Linked DNA regions of Homo sapiens: region 1 is linked to region 2. Evidence: promoter capture Hi-C in 16 types of primary human blood cells and fetal thymus (Javierre and others, 2016). All regions are on one chromosome and are shown on one strand. Each heading gives the region's core, a stretch centred on a gene start or on the middle of the fragment in contact. The rest is flanking DNA. Distances are from core to core; before and after follow the strand shown. Region 1 holds the start of ENTPD7 (ectonucleoside triphosphate diphosphohydrolase 7). Region 2 holds the start of HPS1 (HPS1 biogenesis of lysosomal organelles complex 3 subunit 1).

Region 1 (4,962 bases), core at 1,857-4,356, 1.2 Mb before region 2:
CAACAATATGGTTAAATACATAAGCCTTTTTTTCTTATATTGAAAATCTCTTCAAAAGACAATTGACTAACACAAAAATAATAACAATATATTGTGGAGCTTATAACATGTAGAAATAAAATACATGACAGTAGCAGAAAGACCAAGGGGAAGGGAGGAATGAAAGTATACTGTTGTTAGGTTCTTGTTCTAGATGTGAAGAGGAGTAATATTACTTGAAGGAAGATTGTGATAATTAAAGATGACACTATAAACTTTAAAGTAACCACTAAAAAAAGAAGAAGTTATATCTAATAAGCCAACATGAGAGATAAAATGGAAACATAAAAACTGTGCTCAACTGAAAAGAAGAGGGAAAAAGAGGAAAAAGAACAAGAACAAATGTGACAAATGAAAAACACATAGCAAGATTAAAACTAAACATACTAAATAATCAGATTAAATATAAATGGCCCGAACACCCCAATTAACTGCAGAGATAGTCAGATTGGATAAAAAAACAAGACCCAACCAAACACTGACTACAAGAAGCCCACTTATATAAAGACACCAATAGGCTAAAACTAAAACTATAGAAGAAATATCTGTCATGCTAATGTTAATCAAAAGAAAGTTGGAGTAGCTATATTAATACCAGACTAGTAGATTTCAGAGCAAAGTATATAATCAAGGATAAAGAAAATCATTTAATAATGATAAAGGGGTCCATTCATAAAGGTATAATACAGTCCTAAACATTTATACACACAATAAGTTTCAGCCCACCAAAACAAGAAAACACAAAGATGCCTTTCATGCAGTATCAGTATTCCTGTACCAAACTGCATATTGCCAAAATAGGGCTTAAAATCTTCTTTATGTAATAAATGGCATGCAATTTTACTAATAAAAGTACAGTATCACCCAAAAGGGTCAAAGTCAGTAGTGTGTTAAACAGCTTATGAAAATATTTATGACTTGAGTGCCAAAATCTAAAGCTGACTCACCTTTCGTATTGCCTATCTCGTGGTAATGAAGCACTCCAATGTCGAAAGTCTATGATTAACATAAGTAAAAGGAGACAGGATATGAAGAAGAGTCCCAGGAATGCCACCCGCTGACGGAGAAATGGACTCACTGTGGGCACAGTGAAGTACCAGGAGGCTGGGCAGAGGTAGGAAAAACTGATCCTGAAATTAGACAAACATTAGTAAGTCTGAAACATTTCTACAACTGAGTGCTTAAATATCGTTTTAAAATTGGATAAAACCCTCCTAATAAAGGCAAAAATCCATGCCAACAGAAGTCTAAATGTTCTTGTCATCTCTAATTTTAGAAGAAGCTCATGGTGCTTCTACTATATATATCAGAAAAGCCTTATCTGCCCTTTTTCCAAACTGCACTTTGAGTGCAATTCAAAGACTTAATCTCATGTTAGTGAAAAGATCACCAGTCTCCCTGGGCAACCTCATAACATTGGAGAATCAGAGCAACTACAGTATTCCCAACCAAGAATTCTGTCAAGAAACAGGATGGTCAGAAAATTTATTTAACTGATTTTAAAAATGTTTTACCAGATTATACAAGCACATAGTAAAAGACAAATCAGTTTAAAAGGATATATTGTATAGTGAAAAGTGATTCTTGCCCTGACCCCACAATCTCTCAGAGGCAAACATTACTACCCAGTTGCTGTGTAATTTTTTTTTTTTTTGAGATGGAGTCTTGCTCTGTTGCCCAGGCTGGAGTGTAGTAGCGCAATCTCAGCTCACTGCAACCTCCACCTCCTGGGTTCAAGCGATTCTTCTCCCTCAGCCTCCCCAGTAGCTGGGATTACAGGTGACTGCCACCACACCCGGCTAATTTTCGTATTTTTAGTAGAGACCGGGTTTCTACTTGGCCAGGCTGGTCCTGAACTCCTGACCTCAGGTGATCTGCCTGCCTTGGCCTCCCAAAGTGCTGGGATTACAGGCGTGAGCTACTGCACCTGGCCGTTGCTGTGTATCTTTCCAGGGATATTCTACGGATACACAAGCATAAATATACACCAATATATTTACAGTAATATATCTCTGTGTGTGTGTGTGTGTGTGTGTGTGTGTGTGTGTGCGTATCCATTCCCTCGGTTTTACACAAATGGTAGTCCACCATACCTGCTGTTCTGCATCTTTCCCCCACTTTATTTTATAACTTTCCCTTATTGGTGCATGTAGATCCACATTAATATTTTTTAAAAGCTTCAGGTTATTATAATGTATGGATAAGTGTATTCATCTGTGAAGTTCACTTTGTATATTGATTCAAAAGGACCTCGGTCTGTCTGCTTTTAAAGTTCACTGCAAACAAAAAACAAAAAAACTTCTTTGTTTAACCTCCTCAAGTGGCACCTAGCCTTGCTCAGATGCGAATCTGAATCAATGTTACAACCTTGCACTTTACAGAGCTGAGCAAGCCGACTCACTCTACCACTCCTGGTCTATGGGCTAGAAACTATTATTTATCAGCCCTCGAAATAATACAACTTTGATCGTCTCTGCATCCAACTAACCAGAATACAAAGTCCAAGTGCAGCTCCAGGGCAAACCTCACTTGGGACAGCCTCCCAGGGCCCCCCAACCTGCCTGCCATCCTCTGCCGTGCTCCCAGCCGGAGGGAAAGTGTGCAGCCTTACCTAGCCATGGGTTCCCTTCGGTGGTCTCAACGCCTGTCACCTTCTTTTTCTTTTGCCCTGAGAAGGTGGCCTCCTTGTCCCAGGCATCTCCTACGTCTGCAGCCTAGAAAGATTTGATTTCAGGCTTCTGTCCGACTGAGCCCACGAGACAAACCTGCACGGGAATTCCACGGCTCCCACCTCCTCCCCAGGCTCCCGCTCCGTCTGCTCTGGTTCCTCAGGCCCAGGGGACCCTACCCGGGCATCCTGGGAGCGGGGCGTTCTCGTGGGCCAGCTCTGTCCTCTAGGAACCGGTCGTCCCCAGGTGGCGGGGTGTGGGTCCCGCTTCCTCTCCCCGTCCCTCCGGGTCCCACAGCCCTCTCGCGCCCACACTCACGGGATCAAGCGGCCCGCCGGTTCCTTCGGCACCTCTCGGTTCAGTCCCGAGCTGCTCCCCGCGGCCCCTTGCCCAGCCGGAAGGAGGGCCCGGCCGGCGGCGGCGCCACGTCCCCAAGGAAACCGCAGGGAGCCAATGACTGACAGAAGACTCACGGAGGGGCCGGCTCTCCACGAGCCGAACCGGGGGCGAACCAGCTCGGTCAGCAGCACGTCCGTCCGCCAGGGTGGCCAATCCCCTAGAGCGCTCGGCCTCTGATGCCCGCCCCGGGACTTTGAGCCGCGCCCAATCGGAAAGGCGTCGTACCGAGGCTCCGCCTGCAGGGCCCGCGGAGAGCTCACAGGTGAGTGGCGCTGGGCGGCCCTGTGCCCGCTTCCCTCCCTGGGGCGCGAACTCTCGGCTGGTTGCTTTCTCCACGGCCGCTCCTGGGACAGAGTAGCTCCGGTAGGTGGGTTCAGGGTGTTCGCGACCGAAGCGCATCCCTTGCCCATAACCTATTGTTGGTTTTGTGCCCACTGACCCTCCCTACCAGAATGGCAGTTCTCTCACCTTAAACCTTCCCTATCACCTCCCAAACTGATGCCCCGACCTCACTGTCTTGCCCCGTGAGAAAACAGAAATCGAAGACAATGACGTTTACACCAAAGTGCTTATGTCCATTCATTCATTCATTGAATGTCTGCTTATGCCAGTCATCATGAATTTCTGTGTCGCCGCCCTCCTTGACCTTACAGTAACACAAAGGAAACGACGCGCGCGCGTGGGTGTGTGTGTGTTTCTTTCTTGCTTACACCAGCCGTTATCTCATTTCCAGGAGGACGGCATAAAGTCCAAGCTCTTTCCAACGTGGCACATCCATTGCGCCCCACGATCCGCCCTACCGCCGTCCTCTGCCGCTACTTGCCTTCCTTACCACGCTCCAGCAACGCGTCCTGTTTTGCTCATTCTGCCCCTCCACCTGCCTTGAATAACCGTCCCAGCCTCTTAGCCAAATCACCTCCTACTCATCCCTTACCACCCATCTTAAGGGTCGCCTTCCCCTAAAAGCCCTACTTGACCTACTACACCTTTTTTATACATGCCTATTGTTTCACTTAGCACGTTGAATTACTATTATACGTATATGTCTGTCTGTCTGTCCCACTAGACAGAATATCCTTGAAGGCAGGGACTATTTGCTTCCACATATTCCCAATACTGGCCACTGCCTGGCAGATAAAACACAACTAATGTATAATTAATAAGCAAATGAATGAATGGGGGGGATCGGGGAGGAAGACCACCCAAATGCTTTATTTATTCAAAGCTTACTATGACAAGGGAGTCAGTCACCATCACTTGCATTTGGCCGACTCAAAGCCTGTCAGGACATTAGGAAAACTACTTACTTACTTAATTACCTACAGGGTCTCACTCTGTTGTCATCCAGGCTGGAGTGCAGTGGTGCGATCGTGGTTCACTGCAGCCTCGACCTCCTGAGCAAGCGATCCTCCCACCTCAACCTCCTGAGTAGCTGGCTCTACAGGCACGTGCCACCATGCCCAGCTTATTTTTTTTTAATTCTTTGTAGAGATGGAGTCTCACTATGTTGTCCAGGCTGGTCTTGAACTCCTGGGCTCAAGCAGTCTTCCTGTCTCAGCCTCCCAAAGTGCTGGGATTACAGGGATGAGCAGCTGCACCTGGCCAGGAAAGCTTAGTAGTGAACAAAAAGGGAAGGTTTCATGTATACTCTGACTTGAGGGTATTAGCATGGGAAAGCTGGAGGTGGGCTAACAAAAGTAGTGTCTCTTAGGTGATTGGTTTGGGGTAGGTAGCATATTTGGCTGTCTTTAGTGGGTTCTGAGTTGAAGAAAGGAGGCGGCAAAAAACAGGGAAACTGAGTCATTGACCAAGTCCTGATTATTCTCGGCTGGTTGCTGTAGAGGTTGTGGGTCAG
Region 2 (5,788 bases), core at 2,645-5,144:
GCTATTATATTAGACCGTGGAGTGACATTGGTGTTCAAGACTGCCAGAGCAGCTGAAAATTGAATGGAGAGGGAAAGGGAACAGGTGGGAGAAACTTAAAAAGCTGGTACAAAGTACACTCAAATATCTGGCTGACCTCTGAACTATACTCTAAATAAATCAAAAGAAAAATTAGCATTTTAAAGTAATTGAAAATGAAAACATGGCAGATAAAAAGTTGTGGGATGCTGATAAAGCAGGACCTTGGGGAAGATCTACAGCACTCAACTCCATTAGAAAAGACAAAAGGTCTCAAATCAGTGGCCTCTGTTTCTAGAAGAAAAAAAAACCCAAAGTAAACAGAAGACACGAAATAGTAACTATCAGAACAGAAACTGATGAATTTAAAAACAGGATCAATAAAAATTGATTCAACCAAAAACTGCCTCTAAGAAAATCAATAAACTCCTTTTAAATTTATTGAACATAGACTCCAAAAATAGATTCACACACAGATGGTCAACTGATTTGAGACAACGTGCCATGATAATTAATCCAATGGAGAAAAGATTGATTGATTTATTTATTTGAGATGGAGTTTCACTCCTGTTGCCCAAGCCGGAGTGCAATGGCACGATCTTGGCTCACTGCAACCTCTGCCTCCTGGGTTCAAGCGATTCTCCTGCCTCAGCCTCCTGAGTAGCTGGGATTACAGGTGCATGCCACCACGCCCAGCTAATTTATTTTTTTGTATTTTTACTAGAAATGGGGTTTCACCATGTTGGCCAGGCTAGTCTCCAATTCCTGACCTCAGATGATCTGCCCTCCTGAGCCTCCCAAAGTGCTGGGATTACAGGCATGAGCCACCACGCCTGGCTGAGAAAATATTTTTTTTCAACAAATGGTTCTAGAAAAATTGGACATCTATATACAAAACACACACACACACACACACACACACACACACAAAAGACTAAAACCTCAACCTTCTTTCACATCACACACAAAAATTAACTCAAAATGGATTGTGAACCTAAAGACAAAATCTACGACTATTAAATTTCTGCAAAAAAGAAAAAACAGGAGAAAATCTCTGTGACCCTGGCTAAGCAGAGACTTTACATAGGACACAAAATGCACAAAGATTTCTGCTCTTCAAAAGTCACTGTAAAGAAAATGAAAAGACAAAGCCACAGACTGGGAAAAAAAAATATAATAAAGGGCTTGAATTCAAACACATAAATAAATAATAAGACAAACAATCCAATTTTTAAATAGGCAAAATTTGAACACTTAACATACTACCACATACCTACTAGAATGGCTAAAGTTAAAATAGGACAATATCAAGTGCTAACAAGACTACAGAGCAATTACACCTCTCAGTGTTGCTAGAAGGAATGTAAAATGGTACATCCACTTTGGAAAATGGTTCAGCAGTTTAATATAAATTTAAACACAGACTTACCATACAGCCCAGCAATCCCATGAGTAGATATTTACCTAAGAGAAATATAAACTTATGTTGAACTACCTCACACCCATTAGGATGGCTACTATAAAAATTTTAAAGAAAATAGAAAATAGCAAGTGTTGACAAAGATGTGGGTAAACTGGAACACTTGTTCCAGGTTGGGAATGTAAAATGATGCAGCTGCTGTGGAAAACAGTATGGTAGTTCCTTAAAAAATTAAAAATAGAATTACCATATGATCTAGCAGTTTCTCTTCTGGGTATATGCCCAAAAGAATTGAAAGCAGAGTCTCAAAGAGATATTTGTACACTCATGTTCATAATGGCCTTATTCACAATGGATGTAACCCAATTGTCCATCAGCAGATAAATGGATAAGCAAAATGTAGTATATACAGACTATAGAGTATTATTTAGGCTTAAAAATAAAGAAAAAAGGAAGGAATTCTCACATATGCTACAACATGAATGCACCTTGAGAATATTATGCTAAGTGAAATAAGCCAGTCATAAAAAGACAAATACTGTATGATTCTACTTATATGAGGTACTTAGAGTAGTCAAATTCATAGAGACAGAAAGTAACATTGTGGTTGCTATGAGGAGGAATGAAGAATTGTTGTTGTTGTTGTTTTTGTTGTTGTTTTTGAGATGGGAGTCTCGCTCCGTTGCCCAGGCTGGAGTGCAGTGGCATGATCTTGGCTCACTGCAACCTCTGCCTCCTTGGTACCAGCAATTCTCCTGACTCAGCCTCCTGAGTCACTGGGACTACAGCTGTGTGCCACCACACCCTGCTAATTTTGTATTTTTAGTAGAGACAGGGTTTCACCATGTTGGCTAGGGTGACCTCAAACTCCTGACTTTGTGATCCGCCCGCCTTGACCTCCCAAAGTGTTGGGATTACAGGTGTGAGCCACCACACCCGGCCAGCATTATTGCTTAATGGATATAGTTTCAGTTTTAAAAGATGAAAAGAGCTGTGGAGATGGATGGTGGTGATGGCTGCATAGCATTAGGAATGTAGTTAATACCACTGAACAATACACTTAAAATGCTTAATGATCAATTTTACATTATATGTATTTTACCACAAACAAATTTGAAAAAAAGAAACATGTTGACACAAAAAACCCGTACATAACTAAAAAATAGATTATATTGGATTACATAAAAATGTAAAACTTTGGTGCTACAAATGATACCACTAAGAAAGTGAAAAGACAAGCCACATAATGGGAAAAAAACTTTTGCAAATCAAGTATCTGATAAGGGGCTTGTAACCAGAGCATATAAAGAACTCTTACAACTCAATAATAAAGACAATTTAAAAATGGATAAAGGATTTGAATAGACATTTCTCCAGAGAAGGTACACAAATAGGCAAAAAGCACATGAAAAGATGCCGAACGTCAGGGAAGTGCAAATAAAATCACAAGACACCACTCCACGCTGGGTTACTATACTTAAAAAAAAAAAAATCAACAATAACAAGCATTGGTGAGGATGTGGAGAAATCAGAATCCTCATACATTGCAGTTGGGAAATGGAAATTACCAGTAGGGGAATGAATAAGTAAATAACAGCATATCCATTTGATGGAATTCATTCGACCACTGAAAGCATAGTGAGTGAACGATCTCAACGGTGGGCTGAGCAAAGAGATGCGTGTGGCAGGGCTATGTGCTGTAGATGGGGAGTTGGAAGAATTTGCCCTAAGGTGGGCTGGAAGGGGTGGGTAGTGGGTTGGGGGGAGTGATGCTCTCTTTGATCTGCAGGTGGTGGAAGTATTGATTCTTAGCCTCTGCCTTTCCCCCAAGAGATGCTCAATCTACTATATCCCCAGCCAGTTCTTGCAACCCATACCTTGCTGGGCTGGGCTCAAAGCTCCCAGGTGGCACCCAGGCACTGAGGGGTGGACTGTTCGGGGATTTAGGCCCTTCCAGAGCGCCCCCTCCACTTCCAGGCACCCCCAATACACATACGATTTTTTAAAATAAATATTGCAAACATAGGTTCAACACAAAACTCCTAATGTGCACTCCACTCCCAAAATAGATTGAGAACTCCTATAAATTCCAGCGTTGGCACTCTGGGGGCAACTGAGCCCTTCTGTGCGCTATGTCACCTCCCCAAAGGTCAGGGAGAGCAGTCACAAAAGGACAGCTCTAGCCCCAGAACTTCAGTTCATTAGGCAAAGCCTGAGGTTCCGGGGCATGGGGAGGAGAGAAGGGATCAGCTGAGGAGCCAGGAAACCTGGGTTCTGAGCCTGGTTCGGACCCTCAGCAAGTTATTTCTTCTCTCTGCGCCTCCGTTTCCTCTTCTGTAAAATGGGGCATGGGCAAGGCCTGGCAGGGGCGGGGCTCGAACCCGCGGAAGGCGACGGCGGCTCCGGCCCCTCCCGGGGCGGGCGGTCACGTGCGCGATCACGCGGTCCTACCCGGAAGCGCGCCCGGGCTCCTGCAGGCGGGGCGCTGTGCGCGCCGCGATCCGGTACGTGGGCCTCCGGGCTGTCCCCTCTGGGGGCGGCGATCCTCCCTCCGGAGCCCCCCTTCAACCCTCCCGGAAGTGAGGTAGGGTCCCTAGGGGTCCCGGAGCGGGCCCACTCCTAGCCTCACCCACTCCGGGCGTGTGGCCGTGGGCCGGTCGCTTCCTCGCTCGGGGCCAAAGTTCCTCAGCCGTGAAGAGGGGTGGATGTCACAAGTCAAGCCTCCTTCCCAGGGTGGCCGTGAGGTTCGGGGGTGGGGGGAGGTGGGGATTTGGGGTGAAACTGGACAGAAACTGGCGTGCTAGGCAAACGGGAGCCCCGCGGCGGCGAACTGCTGACTCGCTCTCTCCAGAGACTCAGGGGCAGGGCCGGGCTCCGAAGGTGTGGGACCCCAGAAGGAGCTGCTGAAGACGGGACCAAGGGCCACAGGGAGGTTTGCTGGGGTCCAGATGGTGAAAGTGGGCGCTGGGGGTCGCCCCAGGTTGGCCCCCCGCCATCTGGAGCTCCTTTCGTCAGTGAGTCCCCTCCGAGTTCCCTTTCTAGGGCAAGATAGCGAGGTGAAGCGGAAGTCTCAGTGTGACACCGGCGAGGTTCTCTTCCCAGCAGCCTTTGGGAAGCATCCCCCTGTTTCGGGAATATGGCATTCGGGCCAATCATGTGGGTGATGGAGCCCGTCTCAGGGTTCGGCTGCTAAAGGCCGAACTCGTAACAGCAGTCTCTGTGGCGGGTAGTCACTTGCCTCTTACTGGCTCACAGTGCTTGACTTCCTAATTAAGTTTTCTGTTGTTCCTGCCCTCTATTCAAATATGAATGATTCCGGAACCAGATTGATTAATCCTGTTATTTGAAGAAGGGAAGCTGGGAAATAGGAATAATGATCCCCACACCTATGTAAGAACGCAGTTTGCTAAGGTTACTTTGCAGCTTGCCTGGTCACTCCCATGATCTAACCCTGTAGGGAGGTAGAGTAGGGGATGTTGCTCTGTTTCTCCGCAGGAGTTTGAGGCTCAGAGAGGTTTATGGGACTTGGCAAAGCCAAAACTAGAACCTGGTCCCAGATGCCTTTCCTGTTAGTTTCCTTCCATTCATCGTATCATCCCAGGATCCCCACTCCCTTCACCGGGACTGCATCCTCACCACCTGGGATGTGCTATGCTGTCTCCCGTCAGTCACTCCTAGCAAGCTCCCTGGGGCTGCTTGGGGAGCTCTGAGTGACCCGCAGAAGTGAGAGCACTTCATGGGAACAAAGGAGGAAGGAACAAAAGTGGGCACCTGCTCTGTGCAAAGGGCTGTGCTGGCCGGGTTCCTATTCTCCATTATGGGAGGTGAGGGGCAGGATCCCAGATATGTTCTTAGCAGACTGCCTCAGGGCCTGGAGAGACCAGGGACCACGCAGCCCTTCTCCAGCTTGTCCTTTCTCAACGGGCAGCAGTCAAGACCAGGGCATCTGCCTGCCCTCATATTCTCTCTGTTTTAAGCATTTGCAGGACCAGGGATGCTGTGCTGCTCTCCCATGAGCCAGTCACCGAGTCGGTCTGCTGCAGCCCTTTCTGAACCTCTGGCCGTCTGGATGCTCCACTGTGCTTGCCAAGGTAGATGATCTTGCCCCACCTGGGGAGGACAGGGAGGCAGGCAGCATCCACCCTGGGGCTTTGGGAGGCAGATGGAATGAGGTAGGCAGTGGACTGAGTGCTACTGGGCTCTGCACACCTGCTCATCCCCTCCCCAGCCCTGCATCCTGAGGCCACCCCCATCCTGATGCCTCATCTCTCCTTCACCCCTCGAATCCAGGCAGGTCATCACAGCCTGCTGCATCTTTAAAGCTCCTCCCAGCCCCCACCAAGGGGTGAG

The links. The method cuts DNA at HindIII sites, captures the fragments that hold promoters and counts their contacts. A CHiCAGO score of 5 or more calls a contact.
Region 1: the fragment with the promoter of ENTPD7 here is called in contact with the fragment with the promoter of HPS1 in region 2 in 4 of 17 cell types (non-activated CD4 T cells, naive CD8 T cells, total CD8 T cells and 1 more); the score reaches 9.3 in non-activated CD4 T cells.

Annotation. Positions count from the first base shown.
Region 1 is chr10:99,657,653-99,662,614 of GRCh38, reverse strand. ENTPD7 (ectonucleoside triphosphate diphosphohydrolase 7) reads right to left here and starts at 3,106. Exons shown (of 13, transcript NM_020354.5): 1 at 3,027-3,106; 2 at 2,651-2,753; 3 at 987-1,169. The coding sequence starts at 2,658. It also overlaps a transcript of SLC25A28 not described here. RefSeq lists silencers at 2,878-3,097, 3,218-3,427. The HindIII fragment of the contact is 2,116 bases long and covers 2,219-4,334 here.
Region 2 is chr10:98,445,041-98,450,828 of GRCh38, reverse strand. It overlaps HPS1 (HPS1 biogenesis of lysosomal organelles complex 3 subunit 1), which reads left to right and starts at 3,894. Exons shown (of 20, transcript NM_000195.5): 1 at 3,894-4,022; 2 at 5,425-5,529. HPS1-AS1 (HPS1 antisense RNA 1) reads right to left here and starts at 4,508. Exons shown (of 3, transcript NR_134454.1): 1 at 4,072-4,508. RefSeq lists a silencer at 3,727-4,076. The HindIII fragment of the contact is 10,907 bases long and covers 1-5,788 here.